7 separate regions of the Homo sapiens genome follow, and all the other regions are linked to region 4. The links are contacts of gene promoters, found by promoter capture Hi-C in blood cells and fetal thymus (Javierre and others, 2016). All regions are on one chromosome and are shown on one strand. The core of a region is centred on a gene start or on the middle of the fragment in contact, and the rest is flanking DNA. Distances in the headings are between cores, read along the strand shown.

The links. Contacts are between HindIII fragments. The CHiCAGO score rates a contact against its expected background, and 5 or more counts as called.
Region 1: a fragment that was not itself captured here is called in contact with the fragment with the promoter of CPA4 in region 4 in 4 of 17 cell types (M2 macrophages, endothelial precursors, M0 macrophages and 1 more); the score reaches 6.8 in M2 macrophages.
Region 2: a contact is called between a fragment that was not itself captured here and the fragment with the promoter of CPA4 in region 4, in 6 of 17 cell types (M2 macrophages, megakaryocytes, erythroblasts and 3 more). The highest score is 7.1, in M2 macrophages.
Region 3: a fragment that was not itself captured here is called in contact with the fragment with the promoter of CPA4 in region 4 in 2 of 17 cell types (endothelial precursors and M1 macrophages); the score reaches 6.4 in endothelial precursors.
Region 5: a contact is called between a fragment that was not itself captured here and the fragment with the promoter of CPA4 in region 4, in 3 of 17 cell types (endothelial precursors, M1 macrophages and M2 macrophages). The highest score is 6.2, in endothelial precursors.
Region 6: a fragment that was not itself captured here is called in contact with the fragment with the promoter of CPA4 in region 4 in 5 of 17 cell types (M1 macrophages, M2 macrophages, endothelial precursors and 2 more); the score reaches 8.9 in M1 macrophages.
Region 7: a contact is called between a fragment that was not itself captured here and the fragment with the promoter of CPA4 in region 4, in 3 of 17 cell types (M1 macrophages, erythroblasts and M0 macrophages). The highest score is 7.3, in M1 macrophages.

Annotation. Positions count from the first base shown.
Region 1 is chr7:130,695,221-130,697,920 of GRCh38, reverse strand. No RefSeq gene overlaps it. Among named protein-coding and RNA genes, the nearest start is that of TSGA13, 10 kb to the right of the region's middle. The HindIII fragment of the contact is 5,965 bases long and covers 1-2,700 here.
Region 2 is chr7:130,617,214-130,619,913 of GRCh38, reverse strand. All of the region lies in intron 5 of COPG2 (coat protein complex I subunit gamma 2), which reads left to right. Among named protein-coding and RNA genes, the nearest start is that of COPG2, 50 kb to the left of the region's middle. The HindIII fragment of the contact is 699 bases long and covers 1,008-1,706 here.
Region 3 is chr7:130,745,379-130,748,078 of GRCh38, reverse strand. The region is part of intron 3 of LOC105375508 (a long non-coding RNA gene); the gene reads right to left. Among named protein-coding and RNA genes, the nearest start is that of KLF14, 13 kb to the right of the region's middle. The HindIII fragment of the contact is 1,699 bases long and covers 430-2,128 here.
Region 4 is chr7:130,291,711-130,294,410 of GRCh38, reverse strand. It overlaps CPA4 (carboxypeptidase A4), which reads right to left and starts at 1,250. Exons shown (of 11, transcript NM_016352.4): 1 at 1,163-1,250. The coding sequence starts at 1,230. RefSeq lists an enhancer at 756-845. The HindIII fragment of the contact is 9,413 bases long and covers 740-2,700 here.
Region 5 is chr7:130,723,693-130,726,392 of GRCh38, reverse strand. No RefSeq gene overlaps it. Among named protein-coding and RNA genes, the nearest start is that of KLF14, 9.2 kb to the left of the region's middle. The HindIII fragment of the contact is 4,675 bases long and covers 1-2,700 here.
Region 6 is chr7:130,675,215-130,677,928 of GRCh38, reverse strand. All of the region lies in intron 5 of TSGA13 (testis specific 13), which reads left to right. Among named protein-coding and RNA genes, the nearest start is that of COPG2, 7.8 kb to the right of the region's middle. RefSeq lists an enhancer at 1,059-1,615. The HindIII fragment of the contact is 4,053 bases long and covers 1-2,714 here.
Region 7 is chr7:130,764,954-130,767,653 of GRCh38, reverse strand. The region is part of intron 3 of LOC105375508 (a long non-coding RNA gene); the gene reads right to left. Among named protein-coding and RNA genes, the nearest start is that of KLF14, 32 kb to the right of the region's middle. The HindIII fragment of the contact is 4,409 bases long and covers 1-2,700 here.

The DNA of each region.
Region 1 (2,700 bases), core at 110-2,609, 400 kb before region 4:
TCAAATGATTACTTGCACATCTTTAAAAGGCACGTTTTTAAAGTGGTATTGAGTTTTAAGGCCATGAACATAAACTCTTCTTAGACAAATAGTGGATGAAAAATATTGTATTGAGAAATATATGTCTATAAAATTCATATTGTTTTTTGAGATGGAGTCTCACTATGTCACCCAGGATGGAGTGTAGTGGCGTGATCTTGGCTCACTGCAACCTCCACTTCCCAGGTTCGACCAATTCTCCTGCCTCACCCTCCCAAGTAGCTGGGACTACAGGCGCGCACCACCATGCCTGGCCAATTTTTTTATTTTTGTTTTTATTTTTTTAGTAGAGACAGGGTTTCACCATGTTGGCCAGGCTGGTCTTGAACTCCTGGCCTTAAGTAGTCCACCCACCTTGGCCTCCTAAAGTGCTGGGAATACAGGCATAAGCCACCATGCCCAGCCTATAAAATTAGTATCTAAAAGCAAGAAAGGCTGGGCGCGGTGGCTCATGCCTGTAATCCCAGCACTTTGGGAGGCCCAGGCAGTGGATCATGAGATCAGGAGTTTGAGACCAGCCTGGCCAATGTAGTGAAACTCCGACTCTACAAAAATACAAAAAAACTAGCTGGGCCTGGTGGCGGGCGCCTGTAATCCCAGCTACTCAGGAGACTGAGTCAAGACAATCGCTTGAACCTGGGAGGCGGAGATTGCAGTGAGATCGTGCCGCTGCACTCCAGCCTGGGAAACGGTGCAAGACTCTGTCAAAAAAAAAAAAAAAAAAAAGGCAAGAAAACATTCACAATACTAACAAGCAAGAAAGCAAGACTTTCTGTGGGATATATTTGCACATTCTTTTAGGAACTGCCTTTACAATTTCAAAATGCAATTTTTTTTTTTTTTGAGATGGAGTCTCGCTCTTGTTGCCCAGGCTGGTGTGCAATGGTGCCATCTCGGCTCACTGCAATCTCCGCCTCCCAGGTTCAAGCAATTTTCCTGCGTCAGCCTCCCGAGTAGCTGAGATCACAGGTGTACACCACCACACCCAGCTAATTTTTGTATTTTTAGTAGAGACAGGGTTTCTCCATGTTGACCAGGCTAGTCTCGAACTCCTGATCTCAAGTGATCCACCCACCTCGGCCTCCCAAAGTGCTGGGATTACAGGCGTGAGCCACCACACCCGGCCCAAAATGCAATTTTTATAAAGTTAATTTCAGGTGAAAATGGGAGACCTGGGTCAGAGTTTGCCTATAATGCCCTACACCTATTCTGTTGTGTTTCTGTCTGGCCCATGTTGGTGTATTGCATTTCCTTAGAGACCTAGCCTTGTACATTACCTGAATGTGCCCCTCGTGGCATGTGCTAGTCATGCTTTCCCGCCTACAAAAACCACATCACCTTGAAACCCACAAGAGAATACCTAGGGCTGGGCTCAGTGGCTCACACCTGTAATCCCAGCACTTTGGGAGGCCGAGGTGGGTGGATCACGAGGTCAGGATATCGAGGCCATCCTAGCCAACATGGTGAAACCTCGTCTCTACTAAAAATACAAAAATTAGTCAGGCGGGTGGCATGCACCTGTAGTCCCAGCTACTCAGGAGGCTGAGGCAGGAGAATCACTTGAACCCAAGAGACGGAGGTTGAGGTGAGCCGAGATTGCACCACTGCACTCCAGCCTGGGTGACAGAGTGAGGCTCCATCTCAAAAAAAAAAAGAAAAAGAAAGAAAGAAAAAGAAAAAGAAAAAATAATACCTAAAGTACTCCCCAGTCATGTTTCTGGCCTTCTTTTCTTAAACCTAAGTTTTCTGTAACCATCTTGGGGAGTTGTCCCTATCATCAAAGGAATGTCCCCCAATTGTTCTTGTTAAGGACTTTCTATCTGTCACCATCAGAGGGCGACTTTCAATAATTTCCTGGATCTAGGCTCCCTCTTGGGGTATAATTCCAAATTGCTCCCTAATATCATTTCATTCCTCTTCCATTAAATCTCTTGGGACCCAGGCATTTTCCCAGGTCCTCTATCATTAAAAACATGTCCGCAACCCATTTCTAGCCTCATCCCCAAATGTAGAGGCAGTTAGGTCCAGATTTAAATTAAAGGGACACCCATCTTTTTCTCTTCTATGACTAGTTTTAACGTTTCTGATCTCATGTCTTCCCCAATTATCATTCTCTCTTCATTCATCTGATGATATATCCCCAGTCTGCTTTCTGTCATCTCTAAAGCTATCCTTCTCAAGTCATCGTTTTCTGTTCATCTGAAAGATAGGTTGGCCTTGACTGCTGATCAAAGCCCTTCCACTGTTTCTGGGCAAGCCTGACTCCATAAGCAAAGGCACAGCAGATGCAGGCTCCCTGAAGTGATTTTTCTATCTTTGGGATGGGACTGTTTTTTTTGTTTTGTTTTGTTTCGAGAAGAATCCTCTTTCTCTTCAACTAGCCTTTGTTACATTGCTATCGTGGTAACAAGTGTGATTGGGTCATCAATAATGGACATGTCAGGGCCACGTTGAAAGCACAGAGCGGAGGGTGAGTAGGTAGGGAAATGCCTCATAGAGGCTGTGGATACACCATATAAATGATATTGATTCAATCTGATTTTTCCTTGGATCTAGTATGTCTTCTTTCAGAACAGGATAACAAGTAAGAAAATTTGGGATGGCTATCAAGTACCACCAACAATGACCAGAACTGATAAATCAAAACCAAAAATCTCACAT
Region 2 (2,700 bases), core at 108-2,607, 330 kb before region 4:
TCCGACTTCAGCCATTCATGGCAGTTTTCAGTGTCAGAAAAGAATGGGGACAGTATCTGCAAAGTTTTAAGAAACAGAACATGTGATACAAGAATAATACAGCTAAGCGAATTGTCATTCAAGTACAGGGACAACAAGCAGACTTCCACACTGGAAAGAATTCAGGGACCATAACACCTGTGAGCTTTTCTTGAAAAATAAAATTAAGCATTGAAGTTATATTAAATCAAAAGAGTGAATTCTGTAATAGAGGGGCTACAGGAAATGAATTACCAGTGAGCATTGAATGTATTCAATTATAGAAGTAGGGTTAAACTACTGTAGAAATTATGATTAAAGATAGAATGTAAATGTTATAATCCATGATAATACAAAAAGAATAATACTAACAAAAATTTGGAGATACACGGGAGGGCAGATGAGAGAGGAGAAAGCTTACGTGCATTAATTTTTTTGCTTTCATAGCTTAACTCTTTTATCTAAAGTTTTATGGCAGCGACAAAAAGAACTAGAATGTAAATCTCCCATATTTCAGAGAGAAAACACATTCACTTAGGAAAACAAAAGACACTCTTACATCTGTATTGTCCAATAAGATAGCCATTAGATACATATGGCTATTATAGTGAACATTAATTGAACTTTTGTAAAATTGAAAATTCAGTTCATTAGTCACACTAGCTATATTTCAAGTGCTCATTAGACACATTTAGCTTGTGGCTACTATGCTGAATGATGGAACATTTTCCATCATTGAAAAAAGTTCTGTTGGATAACACTGCCTTATAGGAAACAAAGAAAGTACTAAAAATAGAGATGTAACACAAAACAAATTCATAGAATTAACACCAGACATTGCCTATTAAAAGAAATACAGATTAGTTTAAAAATAAAATACAGCTAACTATATGCTACATATTGTGATGTATATAAAACAAGGCAAAGCAAAATTTGAATATAAAAGGAGGGGTGAAAGCATATAAGGCAAACACTACTGAAAGGAAGCTTGGGTGAAGGTATTAATAATTAGAAAATTGAATTAAATGCAAAAAGTTTTGAAGGAGACAAGAATGAGGTACTTTATCCAAAATGAGGAGGAACTGTCATGAATTATTTATTAATGTAACACCAAAGTACATAAGCCAAAAATCACAAAAAATGTAAATAGAAACAAAATAGTATCAGCCTTTGTTTTAAAAAGAAGGAAAAACCTAAGGGTAAAAAAGATATGAATAATATACTTGATACAGATTGATTAATACTTATGAAAACCTTACCTTTATAATAGAAAAGTCACCTTTATAAGTATTCATGGAACACTTACAAATTATTCAGCATTCAGCCCCTGAAAACCTGTTAATTCTAGAATGTGGAAATATAGTAGAGACTTATTCTGTCATTACAATGCAATCAAATGATACATTTATTTTGAGAAGAAAATGAACAGATAGTACCCAGATATGTCAAAATGGAAAAATAAAAAGAAAACCTCAACTTTTGGGACAGTATATAAGTAAAAATTGAAATTACAGAATATTTTTAAAATCTAATGATGAAAACCTATGAGTTCAACTAAAGCTATGGTCAGAGGAAAATTCATAGTCCTTGGCACTTAAATTACTGAACGAGTGTATTGTTCAGGGCTCCCCATTGCTGGCAGTAGAATCTAGTTCATAGATCCTCTTGGAAATCCGGAAAACCAAGCTTGCATCTGACAGAGCCAGAAAGAGTGCATCAGGGAAAAATGCCCACGCTACAAAATTTTTTAAGTGCAGGACACTTCCAAAAAAAGTCTTTTTTTTTTTTTTTTTTTGAGACAGGGTCTCACTCTGTCACCCAGGTTGGAGTACAGTGGTGCCATCTCAGCTCACTGCAACCTCTGCCTCCTGGGTTCAAGCAGTCCTCCCACCTCAACCTCCCAAGTAGCTGAGACTACAGGCACACCCCACAACACCAGTCTAATTTTTGTATTATCTGTAGAGATGGGGTTTAGTCATGTTTCCCAGGCTGGTCTTGCACTCCTGAGCTCAAGTAATCCTCCCACCTTGACCTCCCAAAGTGCTGGGATTACAGACATGAGCCACCACACCTGGCCAAATTGCTTTCCTAATTGAAAAAGAAATGAAGGACTATCAGTCAAAACTTCTTCCTCTTGGTTTCCTAATGGAGGGAGTCAGAGTTGTAGACCATTTTGGATTATGTGAGAGGAGTTGAGGAAGTGGAGAGATTGATAGCAGTAGTATAAATGCATGGGGAGCTAAAGAAGGGAGGGTAAAAGGTTAAAAACCTCTTTAAAGCATGGACATGGAATTTTGTAGCTAGTTCACACCTCTGCCTGTTTTTGAAGCTCAGCAGAAAGGTCTGAAGCCATTGATAATTTTAGAAAGCCATGCCAAAGAGAGATACCTCTTGAGTTAATTATTTTTGTTAATTTATTTTTAAAAGTTATGTCTAGTCTGATGGGATTTTAGGATTTGGGGGTATGTCAGACTAGGACGCTTTATACCATTGTCCTTAGTTTATCTTTTATGCTAATTATCAGTATCTAAAATTATGGGGAAGGGGTTGTTTTGTTTACGTGATTATCTTTCTTCCTCCCAGAATGATAAGTTCCATGAAGGCAAAGGACTTTTTGCTTTTTACTAATTTTGCTCATTGCTTTATTCTTGAATTAGAACAGTCTTCTACGCAGTAGTCTTA
Region 3 (2,700 bases), core at 30-2,529, 450 kb before region 4:
CCACCTCCCGGGTTCACACCATTCTCCTGCCTCAGCCTCCTGAGTAGCTGGGACTACAGGCACCCGCCACCACGCCCGGCTAATTTTTTTGTATTTTTAGTAGAGACGGGGTTTCACTGTGTTAGCTAGGATGGTTTCAATCTCCTGACCTCGTGATCCACCCGCCTCGGCCTCTCAAAGTCCTGGGATTACAGGCGTAAGCCACCATGCCCGGCTGTGGGAGTGATTTTTATTTTCCCCAAAATGATTAAGTAACTGTTGAACACTCTTTAATAAATTGTCTATCATTTCCCCCACTCTTTTGAAATGTCACCTTTATCATATACTGAACTCTCACATATAAATGGCTGTTTCTAAATCACCTCTTTCTTCCATCAATTTACTGGTCTATTTCTATGACAATACCACACTGAATCAATTACTAAAGCTTTATGATATGCTTTAATACCTGCTAGAAAAATGTTACTCCTCCTATTTTTTTCTCATCCGGATGAATTATTTTGCCAAATTTTATACAGAAACCTGCTGCTATGTTGAATGAAACAGTCTTAAATTTATAAATGTTTTGTAATAATTGTCTTTTATAGCATTGAGTTTTTCTGTTAAGAAACAGTGTGTTTCTCCATGTATTCAGATCTTTATATGAGAACTTTAATTCAGCTGTATACTTTTCTTCACCAAGATCTTTATAGAGTCACCCTACCAAAATCTTACTAGCTCTCAAGTTTTTCTGACATTTTCCTTGGATTTTTCTAGGTACATGGAAATGTGCATCTGCAAAAAGTTACAGTTTTGTATATTACTTTCCAATATGTATTCACCTTCTTTCTTGGCTTTTTCCCCATTGTTGTACTGAATGGGATGTCTACTTTAATGCTAAGTGGTACTAGTAAAGGCTACCCTTGTATTGTTCCTAATTTTAATGGGAATGTTTCAAGTATTTCATGGTTAAGCATTATGTTTGTTGTAGATTTCCACTGGAAACCCCTTTTCAAATATAAGATGCTTTCTTCTATGACTTCTTTACTAAGATCATTTTTTAAAACGAGGAATGTGTGCTAGATCTTATCAACTGCTTTTTGGGGTGCCTATTATATATTTTCTCTTCAGAGAATACAATGAATTCTATTAATACACTTTCACCATCCAAATACCCTTCTTCTCCTGGAAAAAACTCAACTTGGGCATGATGCACTATTTTTAAAATACACTTCTAGATTTAGAAATTTTGTACTATGTTTGTGAGAATTAGTCTCTTTTTTTTGGATCCTATCTTTATCTGATTTCAGAACTAGGGTATTAAAAAAAAACCTCTTACGAATTGAAAAATTGTTCAATCTGTTTTATGGACTATGACCACTATATAACATGGGAAATACCTGTTTTTAGCTTTGGTAGCTCCAGTTGGCGAAACTACTTGGATCTGGTGTTTTGTTTTGTTTTAAGTATACCTTTAATTATTTTTCCATTTATTTTTATGTAATGGTCCATGGAGCTTTGCTCCTTACTGAACCAACTTTGGTAATTTGTGCATTTATGGATCAAACATTTTATCTTGATTTTAATTATATTTATTTAAAGTTGTACATAGTAATATTTGGCTTTTTCCACATTTCTTGATCCTTATATTAAGCATATCTTCTTTTTTTTCTTAATCTGATTCACCAAGCATTCATCTATTTTATTGGTCTTGCCAAATAAATAGAAAATGGTTTTATTAATGAAGCCCACTTGGGGTTTTTAAAATTTCATTTATTTCTACTATTCTTATTTTGTTTTTTTGAGATGGAATTTCGCACTTGTTGCCCAGGCTGGAGTGCAATGACATGGTCTTGGCTCACTGCAATCTCTGCCTCCCAGGTTTAAGCGATTCTCCTGCCTCAGCCTCCCTAGCAGGGATTACAGGCGCCTGCCACCACACCTCGCTAATTTTTGTATTTTTAGTAGAGACAGGGTTTCACCATGTTGGCCAAGCTGGTCTCAAACTCCTGACCTCAGGTGATCCTCCTCCCTCAGCCTCCCAAAGTGCTGGGATTACAGGCATGAGCCACCATGCCCGGCCAATTTATTTCTACTTTTATTTCTTTGGGCTTATTTTTCCTGTTCTTTAACTCTTGAGTCATAAGCTTAGCTTGTTTATTTTCACAATTTCTGTTTTCTACAAGCACTCAAGGCTGCAAATCTTTCCATTTGTACCACTTTGGCAGTACGCACAAATCTTGGAATGTAGTGTGCTCATTTGTTCATTTCTAAGTAGTTTGTAATTTCAATTTTAATTCTTTTGTAATCCAAGTTAATTAGAAGTGTGCCTTCTCATTTTCAAGAGGATAGTGCTTTTTCTGTTTGTTGTTTTTTACTGTCTTCTTGTTGTTAAATAATAATTTTATGCATGTGGTCACTGTGTAGGTTGTATAATTTCTACTTTATAGAATCTATTGAAATTTTCTTTGTAAATATTCCACGTACATTTAAACTGAGTATATAAAGTTTCTCATAATGTTATTAGAATCTTCTTTATCCTTATTTTTTTTCTACTTGAAATGTTAATTTGGTTTGCTTTGTTAACATTTTCATAATACATCTGCTTTTGTTGTTCAATTTTAAATTCCTGGGTCATTTGTTTTAGATAAACAGCATATAGCTTTTTAGGGTTTTGAATTTTCTACCCTCCCTTCTCTATTTTTTAAACTCAGTCTGAGG
Region 4 (2,700 bases), core at 1-2,500:
AGACACAGGTGTGAACAGAAGTCATCATCATAAAACTTAGTCAATCTCATATAAGTAATTACCTCAAAAAACAACCCCAAAGTCTCATTAGCCAGATAGTAAAATAGAAAGAAAACTAAGAGACAGATCCAAGAGATATAGGATTTTATTTGGAGATGAACTTGTGTTATAGCAAAAGGGTACGAGTTTTACGTTCAGAGTTCCAGCTCCCCTGCTTCCCAGCTAAGTGGCCTTGAGCGCGTTCCTTAACATTCTAAGGCTGATTTTTTTCATGTTTAAGTGGAAGAAAATAACACCCCTGCCTGGCAAAGTTGTTGTGTGATCAAAAAGATAATGTACATGAAAGCTCTTTGCAAATGGTAAAGTATTATGCAGTAATGAGTTATTATAATTCAGTCTTCTAACAGGGCACCATGGTATCCCTTTTATCTCTCCTACCACCCAAATGTCCTCTCCCCTGCAAACCTCAAAGTATTCTGCATGGAGCGTGTTGAGCACGTGTGTGTGTGCACACACACACGCGCACACACACACGGTGTTCAGGCATGTGTCTCTGCATGTCATTTTCATAGCTGTGTCTAGGCAAGACCTGTGAAATCTCCACGTCCCAGAAGCCAGTAAGAAAGCACCAGCTCAGAAGAGGGTGTAGCTCAGGGGTAGAGCATTAAACTGCAGATCAAGAGAAGGCACCAGCTCTGCAAAGCCTTCGCCATTAACAAAGAAGTGAAACCAACAAGCTTGAGACCCAGGGTTTCCCTTTATGCATGGCGGAAATTGGAAACAAACCATTTCTGGTAACCAGTAACTCTTAGTAATTAATAACGTAGCTCTTAGTAACCAGTAACTCTTAGTAATTAATAAGGTAGGAGTAAGAAAGTAGATGCCTGGAACTGACCTTATAAGTAAGAACTAGGCAGAAAAAGAACTGGCAGGAGATGAGGGAGCTGGGGAGAGACTGCAATGATCATCTAGTCCTGATTTCACAGATGAAATGGGGTCTCAGAGAAGAGAGTGGACTTGTCCAGGATGACACAGGGGCAAAGCTGGAACAAGAGCCCAGGTCTTCTTCCTCCATGTGAGCTATTATCAGCCATTCATTTTCAGTTCCATTTGGCTCCCATATTTCTGAAATAACCAAATAATAAGTCCAAAAGGAACTTACCCAAAAAATTTTTCTTGGCCACAGATGCTGGACCCAATAAGGGCCCCAATGAACAGTATCCACCTCATGTCCCCGGGGAGTCAGTCATACAGTGGCTGAGTCAAGCTGTATTTATAAAGAGTCTGAGAGTGACTCAAGTCCTCAAAAATGCTAATGTGATTCCCAAGCACCCTTGCAACTCTGACTGTGACAGGCAGGCCCTACCAATGCCTCTCCCATTCCTTTCAAGTGATAAAGGTTGAGCATCTCAATTTACAAGGTCAGGAACTTGCTCCAGGAGCTGAAAAAGTCTGTGCCAAGGGTACCATATTGCTCATCACTTGGCATTTAAATAGTGTTTTTTCAGTGAATAAGCTAATTCCACAGTGTTGGATGGAATTTATCCTGATAGGAGAGGTCAGATTATAAACCTGGCATAGAATTACCTCTAGAATAATAATAAAAAAGTTAAGACTATCAAAGCAAGACTGAGCTGGCTCCAAGACCACATGCTTGACAAGCCCTGCCAGAGAATTTCACCAGGGCAGGTCAGGATGAGGAAAGAGGTTTGGGGCCTCTTTTATGTATCTGAAGCCTAATTCTTCTGACTCCACTAAGGAAATAGAAATGTATCAGGCAAATGATATAGAAAGGATGTTTTAGTCTGAATAAATTATCAGTGTTCCTTGGGGTCTGATCTATGGGGAAGGCTTAATGGTTTTATCAATAATAAGATTTTCAGCCGGGCGAGGTGGCTCATGCCTGTAATCCTAGCACTTTGGGAGGCCGAGGTGGGCGGATCACGAGGTCAGGAGATTGAGACCATCCTGGCTATCACAGTGAAACCTCGTCTCTACTAAAAATACAAAAAATTAGCCGGGCGTGGTGGCGGACGCCTGTAGTCCCAGCTACTCAGGAGAATGGCGTGAACCTGGGAGGCGGAGCTTGCAGTGAGCCGAGATCGCACCACTGCACTCCAGCCTGGGCGACAGAGTGAGACTCCATCTCAAATAAATAAATAAATAAATAATAAGATTTTCTTATACTTCCTAGACTGTGGGTCTGGTGTCCTTTCCGCCAAGTCACAGCTGAATAAATGGAAGACACTCATATCTCCATAACGCCTTCAGGGGCTCTGGGACCTTTGAGTCTGTCCTGGGAGCCCCAGTTCCCACAGCCTTTCCCATCCCACCCTCCCTACGGTCTACATGCTTTCCACACCCACTCAAAGGGAGTGGACACAACCAAGGGTCATAGTTGAGAGAGTTAAAGAAAAACTATCCTGACCTGTGTTAAAATGTAAGACCTAATTCAAGATTATTATGATTAGGACCATGGCTATTTCAGTAGGAAAGACTTACTGTGCTTAACACTGAATACGGCAAAGAAAACAGAGAGGATCAGTGGGATTACTAAGAGAAGACATCAAGGTAGGGGGATTCTTGCTAAAAGCAGGCCAAGGACTTATACATCAAAGTCCCCATCAAAGGTGGGGATGAGGAACTTGATCAGATATCAAGGTGGGAGGGATGACTTCGCAGGATCTTTGCTCAGGCTGG
Region 5 (2,700 bases), core at 155-2,654, 430 kb before region 4:
ATTTCTTTTATGTTGTCAAGCTAACCTTGATACCAAAACAAGGCAAGTTAAAAGACAAGAAAAAAAAATACGCCAATTTTATCTATAAAGACAGGTCCACAAATCCTAAGTAAAATTCAGCAATGCATGACAAGAATAATGCAAGATAATCGTGTGAAGTTTATCTGAGGAATGCAAGATTAATTCAACAATATCTATAAACATAATTCACTACATTAATTTAATAAAGAAGAAAATCAATTACTTTTTTATGTGCCAGTAATCATCAATCAGAAAATGTAATAGACTAAGTGATTCCATATTTGGTAGCAACAAATAATATAAAGAACATCTATGAAGAAGACTATAAAACTTTTACTGAATGACATAAAAGAAAATAGGACTTTTGAGACCAGCCTGACCAAATTGGAGAAACCCCATCTCTACTGAAAATACAAAATTAGCCAGGTGTGGTGGTGCACGCCTGTAATCCCAGCTACTCAGGAGGCTGAGGCAGGAGAATCGCTTGAACCCAGGAGGCGAAGGTTGTGGTGAGCTGAGATCACGCCATTGCACTCCAGCCTGGGCAACAAGAGCGAAACTCCGTCAAAAAAAGAGAGAGAGAGAGAAAGAGGGAGGAAGGGAGGGAGGGGGGGAGAGAGAGAGAAAGAGAAAGAAAGAAAAAAAGAAAAGGAAAGAAAAGAAAAGAGGACTAAGTGGATAAAAATAATGTCTGTGGATGGTAAAATTCAATACTATAAAAATGTCAGTTCTGTCCTCAAATTAATCTGTATAGGTAATGCAGTTCCATTCAAAACCCCACAATGATTTTTCATCGAGCTTTTTAAAGGAAATATTACAGAAGAACATAAGGGAAAGGAAGGGAAAATTGCTTTACCAGATATCAAAATATGACAAAGTTACAGTAATTAAGGCAGTGTGGTATAATGTAGGAATAGACAGGAGATAAGTGGAATTGGATAAAGAGTTCAGAAATAAACCTGTAAATACAGTCCAGTGGACAAGAGAGTTGGCATTCATGTAATCAGGGAAAAGATAGGCTACTTGATACATGCTATTGAGACAATTGCCTCTTCATGAAGAAAACAAAACAATACACAGCATTACTTTCTCAAACCTTTCATAATAATAAATTACAGATGGTAAAGACCTAAACATGTTTAAGCTATAAAAAAATTGGTAAAAAATGCTGGAAAATCCCTCTATCATCATTAAATAAGGAAGATCATCTTGTTTAGGACACAAAAAATTTAAAAATAAAAATTGAAGGAAAAAGATTTGACTGCATCAAAACTTTTAAATGTTTTACTTTTAAAAGCCTAAACACAATTAAATATCAAGCTACATTCTGAGAAAAATATCAGGCATAAGATCAATGTCTGGAATATATAAAGGATCAAAAATTCAAGAGACAAGAACCAAAAAAGTTGTCAAAGTATAGTAATAGGCAATTAAAGAGAAGACAAGGATTGAAAGTGTTGGTTAGGGGCTCTCTAGCCTTATATATAATGCTTTTATTCTTTCTTTTATTACTTTTTTTGGTAGAAATGAGGGCGGGGTCTTGCTTTGTTGCCTAGGCTGGTCTCGAACTCTTGGCTTCAAGCGATTCTCCTGCCTCAGCCTTCGGAAGTGGTGAATTACAGGCATTAGCCTCTGCGCCCAGCCTACTTTGACTTTTTTTAAAAAGCAGAATACCTTCATGTATTGCTTGTATAAGTTAACAAGATTGACCTTTTAAAGTATTTTAAAGGCCAGAAACAAAATAATGTTGGTTAAAAAAGCAAAAGCAGGCCAGGTGCAATGACTCACACTTACAGTCCCAGCAATTTGGGAGGCCAAGGTGAGAGAATCGCTTGAGACAAAAGCTCAAGACCAGCCTGGGTAACATAGCAAGCCCTTGTCTCTACAAAAAAAAAAAAAAAAAATTAGCTGGACATGGTGGTGCATGCCTATAGTCCCAGCTATGCAGGAGGCTGAGGTGAGAGGATTGCTTGAGCCCAGGAGGTTGAGGCTGCAGTGAGATGTGATTACATCACTGTATTCCACCCTGGGCAGCAGAGTGAGATCCTGTCAAAAAAAAAAAAGAAAGAAAGAAAAAAGAAAATCCTAGGTTTGGAAATGATATACCAAACAAATGTTAAGTGTTAATAAAAGCAAGAAGGTGTGACAAAATTAATATCAGAGTCAAAATACAATTCCAAGCCCAAAACTTGAGTGCAGCAAAGGTAGATAATTTTATATTGAGAAAAATCATAGTACACCAAGAATCCAAATCGATAAGAACCTTTGTGCCCGTGTATAGGAGTGTCAGCTCAGGCCCTCTCATGCCTATTCTAGGACCTGGACAGGGAGTTTCTTTTGCCCCTCATCCCTCACTAGGAATTCAGAGACTCACTCCCATTTTCTTAAGCTCATTGGAGGGATAGAGTTAGGGGAGTGTCAACACAAACCACACAGGAAATGAGCCCAATCTGAATTCTCAAAGGAAAATCTCACACACTCCACTCCGGAATACTCTTTGTCTCTTATTTTTCCGCAATAGCTCTTGATAATCCAGAGCTTGACCCAGAATCCTAGTTCACCTGTCAAAATATTCTAGTTTAGTAAAGGGCAAGAAAAGCAAAATGGTCAAAACATACAAACATTTACGATTCAACTTGAAAGAAAAAAATGTAGCATTTTTTATTATCTATTGCTGCT
Region 6 (2,714 bases), core at 46-2,545, 380 kb before region 4:
AATGAGGTATGTTAAAGTAATAGAAGAATATACAAAATACAGAAGTAATGTAGAATACAGTATTTCTGTTGGGAAAAAGGGAGTGAGTAGGGAAGTGACCCATGACAAAAGAACAGGAAAATATCAAATCAGAGGAAAGAGCAAAAGCATGAAGACATGGGAAAATGAGGTGCATTCAGGAAGATGTAAGAGAGTAAATGGCAGGGCCAGGCGCAGTGGCTCACGCCTGTAATCCCAGCACTTTGGGAGGCTGAGGCGGGCAGATCACTTGAGATAAGGAGTTTGACACCAGCTTGGCCAACATGGTGAAACCCCATCTCTCCTAAAAATACAAAAATTAGCCATGCGTGGTGCTGCATGCCTGTAGTCCCAGCTACTCAGGAGGCTGAGGGAGGAGAATCGCTTGAACCTGGGAGGTGGAGGTTGCAGTGAGCCAAGATAGCGCTACTGCATTCCAGCATGGGCGACAGGGCGAGACTCTATCTCAAAAAAAAAAAGAAAAAGCAAATAGAGTAAATGGCAGGAGACAAAAGGATGTAATCAAATTTGCATTTTAGGAAGACTGTTTTGGAGGTTGAAGAAAGGTGCATTAGTAGTTGTGGAAGAGACAAAACCCAGAAAGATGAGTTATAATGTTACTAAAATAGTCAAGGTGAGAGATACTGAAGACCTGAACTAAATCATTAGCAGAGGAAGTAGAGAAAATTTAATTATGAGATATTTAAGAATCAAAATCTGGCCGGGAGCAGTGGCTCACGCCTGTAATCCCAGCACTTTGGGAGGCCAAGGCAGGTGGATCACGAGGTCAGGAGATTGAGACCATCCTGGCTAACCCAGTGAAACCCCGTCTCTACTAAAAATACAAAAAATTAGCCGGGCGTGGTAGCGGGCGCCTGTACTCCCAGCTACTCCGGAGGCTGAGGCAGGAAAATGGAGTGAACGTGGGAGGCGGAGCTCGCAGTGAGCCGAGATCGCACCACTGCACTCCAGCCTGGGCGACAGAGGGAGACTCAGTCTCAAAAAAAAAAAAAAGAATCAAAATCTAAAAAAGGTCATGATAGCCTCAAGAGCGGGTCTAATCTAACAAGAACAAATTAAATAAATGAGTTAAGTGAAAGTGCAAACAAAGGATTCTAGTAGAAATTTTATGCTGGGCATGGGATTACCCAAGTGAGACCCTTATAATAAAATGTGGTGAATTTGGAGTTAGTGTTTCCATAGTTCCTAGATGGATGACAGTGAGAGATTCTCCTTCAAGTGGAAGATAAAATGCTAATATCCAATGGCATGTACTAACAAAGGAGTTAATGAATTTACCGCATGTGGTCTCTTGGGTCTCAGAATTTGTGCCCTTTGAAGGTAAGCTCACTGGTAGTTTCTCATGGCAGTGGGTGGACCATACATTGAGAAAGGGATAAATGCCAGGCCAGGATTGCCCTGCTTAATGCGCAGAAGGAAATACAAAGCTATCATGTAAACTGGGTGTGGGAAGAGCTTTCTTCCAACAGCCTGCACACTTTGTGAACCCTCCAGTTCAGGTGCAGAATCTAATCATATTGATGAGCAAATTGTGGTACCAGTTAAATTGTACTAATGGATAAAGTTAAGGCTCAAAGACTGGCACCATGGTAATTTTATGGGGCTATCAGACTGGAACAAGCCCAAGAAGATTGAAACGTGTGATATCTACAATGCCTCTTTAATATTCATGCAGCATCCTTTCCTTCCCTTGCTGGACAAATGTGATAATCTTTTGTAAACCTAGAATCATTTACAAGAAAAGCATTCTTTGTTATGCCCAGGCATGCATCCAAAAAGACTGTGAGTTCTAGTAGGCAAGTTATGGAATGTACTAGATATATCTATTACAGTGATTGTCATACTAACAGCCCCTTCTAAGTGAAACTGACCCTACCACAGTCTCCTGAGTAAGGGAATATCCTGAGAAGTTCTATTTTGTACAACAGGACCGTGTCCCCACTCCTAGTTGAGACCAGAGGAGGATATCAGACCCAACAAAGCAAAATTCATAGGCTGGGTAGTGACCTGTGATGTGGATTGGTACCCTAAAACCAAAACAAACAAAAAACAAATCAAAACAAAAACCAACCAACCTACCAACATCCAGAATCCCTGAGCTAATCAGATTCTTGTTTCCAGGTCTCTGAATTGAGAAATGAAAAGATTGAAGCAGTAGGAATGAAAGCTAAAAGGACACATAAGAGTAAGGCTAGAAGACTCAAACCGGCCTGGCGCAGTGGCTCACGCCTGTAAGCCCAGCACTTTGGGAGGCCGAGGCAGGCAGATCACGAGGTCAGGAGATTGAGACCATCCTGGCTAACGTGGTGAAACCCTGTCTCTACTAAAAATACAAAAAATTAGCCAGGCGTGGTGGCACATGCCTGTAGTCCTAGCTACTCCGGAGGCTAACACAGGAGAATTGCTTGAACTTGGGAGGTGGAGGTTGCAGTGAGTGGAGACTGTGCCACTGCAGTCCAGCCCAGGCAACAGAGTGAGATTCCATCCCCTCCCCACCCCACCCCCCCCAAAAAAAGACTCAAACCATGAGGAAGAAAGGTAGTGAAGAGGCCATGAAGTCGAGTATGGGAAGGCTGAAGTTATAGGGAAGTAGGAAGTAGAAGTAAATAAGCAGAAGCTATAGGTAGAAAAAAACCCATATATATATACATATATATATATATACACACATATTT
Region 7 (2,700 bases), core at 183-2,682, 470 kb before region 4:
GCTGGGATTACAGGCGCACACCACCATGCCCAGCTAATTTTTTTTTTTTTTTGGTTTTTTGTTAGTAGAGACAGGGTTTCACTATGTTGCCCAGGCTGGTCTGGAACTCCTGACCTCAAGTTATCTGCTCACCTCAGCCTCCCAAAGTGCTGCGATTACAAGCATGAGCCAGTATGCCTGGCCTCACTTCACTTTTAAGGACATACATTGATTGAAAGTGAAAATATTGAGAAAGATAATCCATGAAAATGGAAACCAAAAGAGAACAGAGGTAACTAACCTCGTATCAGATAAAACAGACTTTAAGTTGACACTATAAAGTGAAACAAAGAAGGTCATTATATAATGATTACAAGGCCAATTAATCAAGAAGATATAATGATTGTAAATATATATGCACCCAACATTGGAGCACCTAAATAAATAAAGCTCACCTCTATGCAAATAAACTAGAAAATATAGAAGAAACGGATAAATAACAGGACACATACACCCTCCCAAGACTAAACCAGGAAGAAGCTGAATCTCTGAACAGACCAATAACAGGTTCTGAAATTGAGGCAATAATTACTAACCTACCAACCAAAAAAAGTCCAGGACCAGACAGATTCACAGCTGAATTCTACCAGAGGTACAAAGAGGAGATGCTTCCATTCCTTCTGAAACGATTCCAGTCAATAGAAAAAGAGGGAATCTCCCTAACTCATTTCATGAGGCCAGGATCATCCTGATACCAAAGCACGGCAGAGACACAACAAAAAAAGAGAACTTTAGGCCAATATCCCTTATGAATATCAACGCAAAAATCCTCAATAAAATACTGGTAAACTGAATCCAGCAGCACATCAAAATGCTTATCCACCACGATCAACTTGGCTTCATCCCTGGGATGCAAGGCTGGTTCAACATATGCAAATCAATAAATGTAATCCATCACATAAACAGAACCAATGACAAAAAACACGATTATCTCAATAGACGCAGAAAAGGCCTTTGCCAAAATTCAGCAGCCCTTCATGCTAAAAATTCTCAGACTAGGTATTGATGGAACATATCTCAAAATAATAGGAGTTATTTATGACAAACCCACAGCCAAATCATACTGAATGGGCAAAACCTGGAAGCACTCCCTTTGAAAACTGGCACAAGACAAGGATGCCTCTCTCACCACTCCTATTCAACATGGTGTTGGAAGTTCTGGCCAGGACAATCAGGCAAGAGAAAGAAATAAAGGGTATTCAATTAGGAAAATAGGAAATCAAATTGTCTGTTTGCAGATGACATGATTGTATACTTAGAAAACCCCATCGTCTCAGCCAAAATCTCCTTAAGATGATAAGCAACTTCAGCAAAGTCTCAGGATACAAAACCACTGTGCAAAAATCACAAACATTCCTATACACCAATAACAGAGAGCCAAATCATGAGTGAACTCGCATCCACAATTGCTACTAAGAGAATAAAATACCTTGGAATCCAACTTACAACGGGTGTGAAGGAACTCTTCAAGGATAACTACAAACCACTGCTCAAGGAAATAAAAGAGGACACAAACAAATAGATAAACATTCCACGCTCATGGAGAGGCAGAATCAGTATTGTGAAAATGGCCATACTGCCCAAAGTAATTTATAGATTCAATGCTATCCCCATCAAGCTACCACTGAATTTCTTCACAGAATTGAAAAAAAAACTACTTTAAACTTCATATGGAACCAAACAGGAGCCCACATAGCCAAGACAATATTGGGGAAGAAGAACAAAGCTCAAGGCATCACACTACCTGACTTCAAACTATACTACAAGGCCATAGTAACCAAAACAGCATGGTACTGGTACTAAAACAGATATATAGACCAACAGAACAGAACGGAGGCCTCAGAAACAATGCCACACAGCTACAACCATCTGATCTTTGACAAACCTGACACACACAAGCAATGGGGAAAAAGATTTCCTATTTAACAAATGGTGTTGGGAAAACTGGCTAGCCATATGCAGAAAACGGAAATGCCCTTACCCCTTCTACAAAAATCAACTCAAGATGGATCAAAGACTTAGACATAAGACCCAGGACCATAACAATCTTAGAAGAAAACCTGGGCAATACCATCAGGACATAGGCATGGGCAAAGACTTAACGTCCAAAACACCAAAAGCAATGGCAACAAAAGACAAAATTGACAAACAGGATCTAATTAAACTAAAGAGCTTCTGCATAGCAAAGGAACCTATCATCAGAGTGAACAGACAACCTACAGGATGGGAGAAAATTTGTGCAATCTATCCATCTGACAAAGGGCTAATATCCAGAATCTACAAAGAACTTAACCAAATTTACCAGGAAAAAACAACCCCATCAAAAAATGGGCAAAGGATATGAACAGATACTTATGAAAAGAAGACATTTATGCAGCCAACAGACATATGAAAAAATGCTCATCATCACTGGCCATTAGAGAAATGCAAATCAAAACCACAGTGAGAAACCATTTCACACCAGTTAGAATGGCAATCATTAAAAAGTCAGGAAACAACAGGTGCTGGAGAGGATGTGGAGAAATAGGAACGCTTTTACACTGTCGGTGGGAGTGTAAATTAGTTCAACCATTGTGGAAAACAGTGTGGCGAGTCCTCAAGGATCTAGAACTAGAAATACCATTTGACCCAGCAATCCCATTACTGGGCATATACCCAAAG